Regions from separate parts of the Homo sapiens genome. Here region 2 is linked to region 1. The links are contacts of gene promoters, found by promoter capture Hi-C in blood cells and fetal thymus (Javierre and others, 2016). All regions are on one chromosome and are shown on one strand. The core of a region is centred on a gene start or on the middle of the fragment in contact, and the rest is flanking DNA. Distances in the headings are between cores, read along the strand shown. Region 1 holds the start of DNAJC8 (DnaJ heat shock protein family (Hsp40) member C8). Region 2 has its middle 15 kb from the start of EYA3.

Region 1 (3,563 bases), core at 754-3,253:
AAACGCTTTCTTATACAATAACTTTAGTCCTCATGAAAATGTTTATTTTAAAATTAACTCTCTTGCCAAGCACAGTGGCTCATGCCTGTAATCCCAACACTTTGGGAGGCCAAGACGGGAGGATTGCTTGAGCCCAGGAGTTTAAGACCAGCCTGGGCAACACAACAAGACCCTGTCACAACAAAAAAAATACAAAAATCAGCCAGGCATGGTGGCCTGAGCTTGTAGTCCCAGCTACTGATGTGGGAGAATCACTTGAGCCCAGAAGGCAGAGGTTGTGCATTCCAGCTTGGGCAAGAGTGAGGCTCTGTCTCAAAATAAATAAATTAAATTAAATTAACTCTCTTGTTTTTACAGATGTGGAATATGAAGATCTGCAAAATTAATGTCTTGAACAAATTCAATCCCGGCCAGGCGTGGTGGCTCAAGCCTGTAATCCCAGCAACTTTGGGAGGCCGAGGCGGGAGGACCTTAAGTCAGGAGATCAAGACCAGTCTGGCCAACATGGTGAAACCCCCGTCTCTACCAAAAATACAAAAATTAGCCAGGCGTGGTGGCAGGCGCCTGTAATCCCAGCTACTCGGGAGGCTGAGGCGAGAGAATCACTTGAACCAGGGAGGCAGAGGTTGCAGTGGGCCAAGATCGTGCCACTGCACTCCAGGCCTGGGCAACAAGAGCAAAACTCCGCCTTAGGAAAAAAAAAAAGAATTCAATCCCAGTCCAGTCAGGTTAACTGTCTTCCAAGAATTTTTTTCTTTTTTAGACAGTCTCTCGCTCTGTCACCCAAGCTGGAGTGCAGTGGCGCGATCTCTGCTCACTGCAAGCTCTGCCTCCCGGGTTCACGCCATTCTCCTGCCTCAGCCTCCCGAGTGGCTGGGACTACAGGCGCCCACTACCAGGCCCAGCTAATTTTTTGTATTTCTAGTAGAGACGGGGTTTCACCGTGGTCTCGATCTCCTGACCTCGTGATCCGCCCGTCTCGGCCTCCCAAAGTGCTGGGATTACAGGCGTGAGCCACCGCGCCCAACCAAGAATTTTTTTTTCTATCCTTTTTTTCCTTCTTTTTAAAGAGACAGGGTCTCACTCTCGCCAAAAATGGAGTGCAGTGGTCCGATCATAGGTCACTGCAGCCTCGAGCTTTTGGGTTCCTCCCGCCTGGGCCTCCCAAAGTGCTGGGATTACAGATGTGAGCCACTGTGCCCAGCCCCTTGCAATAATTTAATCTGAGATTCTGACTCCAAACGGCATGCTTTTATTTCATTTATTCATTCATTCACTCAACAAATATTTACTGAGCATCCACTACATACTATGCGCTGGAGATGCGATAGTAAAGGAGGCTCAGAACAAGCCCACTGCTGTCCTAACATACCACCAAGCAAGCTGTAACCTACTGTAAGGCCCCAAACTATTTCACCTCCCTAAAGCTCAGGTTCGTCATCTGTAAAATGGGGGTAATATAATGCCTAACTGGCATGATACACAGTGCCTGGCGTTCGTGAATGGCAGAAACAACCACTAAAACAACTCATTACAAAGGACTAAGAAACGTCTCGGGGGCCAAGAAGGCTAAGTCACTCCCAGGAAGGGCCCAGCCTCTGCCAGCCCCCGACTCCGCGGACTTGGGGCACTCTGCCCGCGCGCCCGCACTATGTTGGACACACTCGCCACCTCCCTCGATAGATCGAACACCATTCCCTCTTTCGTTGCCCCGGGGGATCTCCCAGCAGCTATCAGTGGGAGACGCTCACACACCCCCAGACCCCCGCCACCCCGAAGACTGGACTGAAGGAATCGCCCAACGGTCCAGGCCAGGCGGCCACTGCCTTTGTCCACTGGGAAAGCAGATCCGGGAGCGGTCGCCCCGGTGCCACTACTCCTCACTCTGTGTTCACCTCACTGTAGAAGGTCATAAATGCTTCCTCGGTGCTGCCTCCGCCGCCTGAAGTCCCGCTCTCTCCTGAAGCCGCCATTTCCCCGGCCCAGCCACCACGTGACCCTTCTGCGCAGGCGTCGCCTCACGTGATTCTTACAGGTCCGCTCCTCTAGCCCCGCCTCCCGTCTGAGAGGTTCTTAAAGGGCTCGCAGCCCAGCCAGGCACTTTAAAAGTAGGTGGGCTTTTTAAAATTTAAACGAATTACACATAACATATAATTAACCACTTTAAAGTAAATAATGTGCTTAAGTTATTGTTAGGTAAAAAATAATAAGAAGAATAAAAGAAAAAGTGAATAATTCAGTGGGTTTATTTATTTATTTATTTTTGAGACAGGATCTCTGTCGTCCAGGCTGGAGTCGAGTGGTGCAATCACAGCTCACTGCAGCCTCGACCTCCCAAGCTCAAGCGATCCTCTCACTTCAGCCTCCCGAGTAGCTGGGACTGCAGGCGCGCGCCACCATGCCCGGCTAATTTTATGTACTTTTGTGGAGACGGGGTCTTGCCATGTTGCCCAGGCCTCCCAAAGTACAGGAATTACAGGCATGAGCCACCGCGCCGGACCGGCTCAGCTGTCTTCAGAACATTCACAATGTTCTGCAACCACCATGTCTACCTGGTTCCAAAATAGTTTCATCACCTCAAAAGGAGACTTAGTATCTACTTTTTTTTTTTAGACGGAGTCTCACTCTGTCACCCAGGCTGGAGTGCAGTGGCGCCTCCCCGGTTCCAGAAATTCTGCCTTAGCCTCCCGAGTAGCTGAGATTACAGACAAACGCCACCATGCCCCGCTAATTTTTATATTTTTAGTAAAGCCGGATGTTCACCATGTTGGCCAGGATGGTCTACGATCTCCTGACGTCGTAATCCGCTCGCCTTGGCCTCCCAAAGTGCGGGGATTACAGGCGTGAGCCACCGCGCCTGGCCGAGGAGACCTAGTACCTATTAAGCAGTTACTCCCTATTCGCCCCCTCTCCCCAGTCCCTGAAAACAAGCAATCTGTGTTCTATCTATATGGATTTACCTATTCTGGATATTTCACATAAATGGAGTTAAACAATATGTGAATACGTATTTCACATAAATGGAATTAAACAAAATACCAGGTAGGGCTGCTATTTTCTCAACTAAAATATAATCAATAAAGCCAGTTTTACTATTTCATAGAAAACAAAGAAGGTTTTGTTTTGTTTTGTTTTTTTGAGGCAGAGGCTTGCTCTGTTGCCCAGGCTGGAGTGCAGTGGCATGATCTTGGCTCACTGCAACCGCCGCCTCCCAGGTTCAAGCAATTCTCCTGCCTCAACCTCCTGAGTAGCTGAGATTACAGGCGCATGTCACCACGCCCGGCTGATTTTTGTATTTTTAGTAGAGACGGAGTTAGTCAGGCTGATCTCGAACTCCTGACCTCATGATCCATGCGCCTCGGCCTCCCGAAGTGCTGGGATTACAGGTGTGAGACACCACGCCCAGCCCCAAAGAAGGTATTTTTATAATCATCAATCAGGTAGATAATCTGGCCCAATTCTCTCATCTAAAAAAGAAGAAACAGAGAAGAGAAAATGAGTTAGAGAAGAGCTATAAACTTCATGAGAGTAAAGACTACTGTTGTCTTGTTCACATTCATTAG
Region 2 (3,563 bases), core at 463-2,962, 130 kb before region 1:
AGTGAGCCGAGATCGTTCCATTGCCCTCCAGCCTGGGCGACAAGAGCGAAACTCCGTCTCAACAATAACTACAACAAAAAATCTATACTATGAAGCTTTCATGAGTATAGAGATGTAGAAAAAAATTATAATAAACCTCAAAGTCCTGATCTTTATCAAGAAACTTGAGATGCTATTCACCTAAGTGCTTTAGAGAATGCCAAGCACTAAATTATCCAGCCTGCTTTGTTTAGAAAGACAAGGCTGAGGGTAAGGCCGGGCACGGTGGCTCATGCCTGTAATCCCAGCACTTTGGGAGGCCGAGGCGGGCAGATCACGAGGTCAGGAGATCGAGACCATCCTGGCTAACACGGTGAAACCCCGTCTCTACTAAAAATACAAAAAATTAGCCGGGCGTGGTGGCAGGCGCCTGTAGTCCCAGCTACTCGGGAGGCCGAGGCAGGAGAATGGTGTGAACCCGGGAGGTGGAGCTTGCAGTAAGCCGAGATCGCGCCACTGGACTCCAGTCTGGGCAACAGAGCAAGACTCCTTCTCAAAAAAAAAATAAAAAGACAAGGCCGAGGGTTAGTGAATTTCTACATAAGAGTTACCATAAAATTTAAGATACATCTAAAAGAATTCTGAACTATGTCATCATAAAAATAGACTAAGTCTTTTAATTAAAAAGACAAAGAGCTTTTCTATACTATTGAAATGCTTGTTTTAATAATCCCAGGGAGTATTTACTTGTAATCCTGAGGCTATTAATTTTTATTACAGCAAACTACATTTTTAAAAGAATGTTTAGTATAGGAAATGGTGGTTATTCATTCAAAGCTATAAACTATGTTTGTTTTGGAAGGTTAATTTTACTGCAACCTGGTGATAAATTAACCCACTCACTATGAGCTCACTAATCTAAATCTAATTAGCTTGGCCAGCGTAAAAGTCTAGACAGATTTTCTTAAATTTGGGAATACATCTAAATGCATTCCTTCATGTTAAAAAAAAAGTTTAAAAAGTTATAAGAAAATAAATATAAGACTCAAATAAATTAACTTTAAAGAGCAATGCAGGCCGGGTGCAGTGGCTCACACCTGTAATCCCAGCACTTTGGGAGGCCAAGGCAGGTGGATCACTTGAGGTCAGGCATTCAAGACTAGCCTGGCCAACACGGTGAAACCCCATCTCTATTAAAATACAAAAATTAGCTGGGCGTGGTGGCGCATGCCTGTAGTCCCAGCTACTTGGGAGGCTGAGGCAGGAGAATGGCTTGAACCTGGGAGGTGGAGGTTGCAGTGAGCCAAGATCACACCATTGCGCTCCAGCCTGGGCAGCAGATGGAGACTCTGTCTCAAAAAAAAAAAAAAAAAAGCAATGCAGAGAATGAAAGTCTGATACATGCTACAACACGGCTGAAACTTGAAAACATTCATTATGCTAAATGAAATAAGCCAAATACAAAGGGACATATATTACATGATTCCACTTACACGAGGTACCTAAAATAGGCAAATTCATAGATACAGACGGTACAATAAAGGTTCCCAGAAGCTAGAGGTAGGGAGTAATGGAGGGTTATTGTTTAGTGGTACAGAGTTTTAGTTCGTGATGATAAAAAAAAGTTCCAGAAATTGGCCGGGCGTGGTGGCTCACATCTGTAATCCCAACATTTTGGGAGGCCGAGGCAGACAGATCACGAAGTCAAGAGACTGAGACCATCCTAGCCAATATGATGAAACCCTGTCTCTACTAAAAATACAAAAATTAGCTGTGTGGTGGCGCGTGCCTGTAGTCCCAGCTACTCAGGAGGCTGAGGCAGGAGAATCGCTTGAACCCGGGAGGTGGAGGTTGCAGTGAGCCGAGATCACACCACTGCACTCCAGCCTGGCGACAGAGCAAGACTCCATCTCAAAAAAAAAAAAAAAAAGTTCCAGAAATTGATAGTGGTGATGGTTGTACAACATTGTAAATGTACTTAATGCCATTGATTTGTACACTTTAAAATAGTTAAAACTGTAATCTTATGCATATTTTACCACAATAAAAAATACTATACCAAAAAAATGTAAAAATTTTTTACATGACAGCTAGCCTAAACTCTTCAAAATGTCAATATCATGAAAAATCCACAAATGGAGGGGATTTAGACTAAAAGAGAGTAAAGAGACCCAATAACAAATTGCAATGAGTGAACTTTGATACAATCTTGATTTGGGAAAAAGTCTACAAAATACATTCTTAGGCCGGGTATGATGGTTCACGCCTGTAATCCCAGCACTTTGGGATGCTGAGGCGGGTGGATAACGAGGTCAGGAGTTCGAGACCAGCCTGACCAACATGGTGAAACCCTATCTCTACTAAAAATACAAAAATTAGCCAGGCGTGGTGGCGCATGCCTGTAATCCCAGCTACTCAGGCAGCTGAGGCAGGAGAATCGCTTAAACCCAGGAGGCAGAGGTTGCAGTGAGCCAAGATTGCGCCACTGCACTCTAGCCTGGGCGACAGAGCGAGACTCTGTCTCAAAAAAAAAAAATTCTTTTATCAATTGAGGAAATTTGAAAATGAACTAGCAATTAGAAGATATTATGAGGCAGGGTATGGTGGCTCACCCCTCTAATCCCAGTATTTTTGGAGGCCAAGGCTGGAGGATTGCTTGAGCCTAGGAGTTCGAGACCAGCCTGGGCAACATAGCGAAACCCTGTCTCTACAAATAATACAAAAGAAAAAAATTAGCTAGACATGGTGGCACCTGTGGTCCCAGCTACTCAGGAGGCTGAGGCAGGAGGACCACCTGAACCTAGGAGGTTGAGGCTGCAGTGAGTCGTGATTGCACCACTGCACTTCCAGCCTGGGCGACAGAGTGAGACCCTGTTTCAAAACAAAACAAACAAACAAACAAAACTTCCTGCTACCTAGATCCCTGGAGCTACCCTGTATGCTTTTTCTGAGGCTTGACGTTCAGCTTTCCTTCGGTAAGCTATCCCATATCTTTCCAATAAAATATTTTTGTTGTTGTTGTTATTAAGACCAGAATTGGTCACTGATGTTTTCAATCAATGAACCATGGCTGATCCAATGTCTTATCTATAAAAGACATAGAAAATCGGCATAGTGAAAATTCCTAGCATAAAAAAACTATTGCTTTTATGTAACAGTTTAATATTCTCCAGGCAAGAGGCAAATTACAACTTTGTGAAATGGGCTGTGAGCTACAAAACTAATAAAAATCATTCAGAGGTGAAAAGAATGAAAGGTGAGAGAGGCATTACATGTACTCTGCCTCTGGAATACAATTCCACTTCCCTACCAAAGAAGGCAATGGGAGGAGAAGGAAGCGGAAAGTAGAAAAAGCTTCTCCGGCTCCCCTGAATAGGAATCTGGCAATAATCTGGCTGCTATTTACTAGCATGCAGCATCCGAGGCACTGTGTTAGTCCTTCATATGCAGCGCCTCACTGACTTCTCCCAAGGGCACAATTATTATCTATCATTTGGCTATATATATTCTGATTCTCTCCACTTTACAGAAAACTGGGGCTCAAGGTTGTTAAATCATTAAGTCGAAGTCCCAGAGGTGGGAAG

Evidence for each region. The method cuts DNA at HindIII sites, captures the fragments that hold promoters and counts their contacts. A CHiCAGO score of 5 or more calls a contact.
Region 2: a fragment that was not itself captured here is called in contact with the fragment with the promoter of DNAJC8 in region 1 in 1 of 17 cell types (endothelial precursors); the score reaches 6.1 in endothelial precursors.

The regions. Positions count from the first base shown.
Region 1 is chr1:28,231,026-28,234,588 of GRCh38, forward strand. DNAJC8 (DnaJ heat shock protein family (Hsp40) member C8) reads right to left here and starts at 2,004. Exons shown (of 9, transcript NM_014280.3): 1 at 1,896-2,004. The coding sequence starts at 1,973. RefSeq lists an enhancer at 1,694-2,227. The HindIII fragment of the contact is 12,029 bases long and covers 1-3,563 here.
Region 2 is chr1:28,101,572-28,105,134 of GRCh38, forward strand. No RefSeq gene overlaps it. Among named protein-coding and RNA genes, the nearest start is that of EYA3, 15 kb to the left of the region's middle. The HindIII fragment of the contact is 3,238 bases long and covers 94-3,331 here.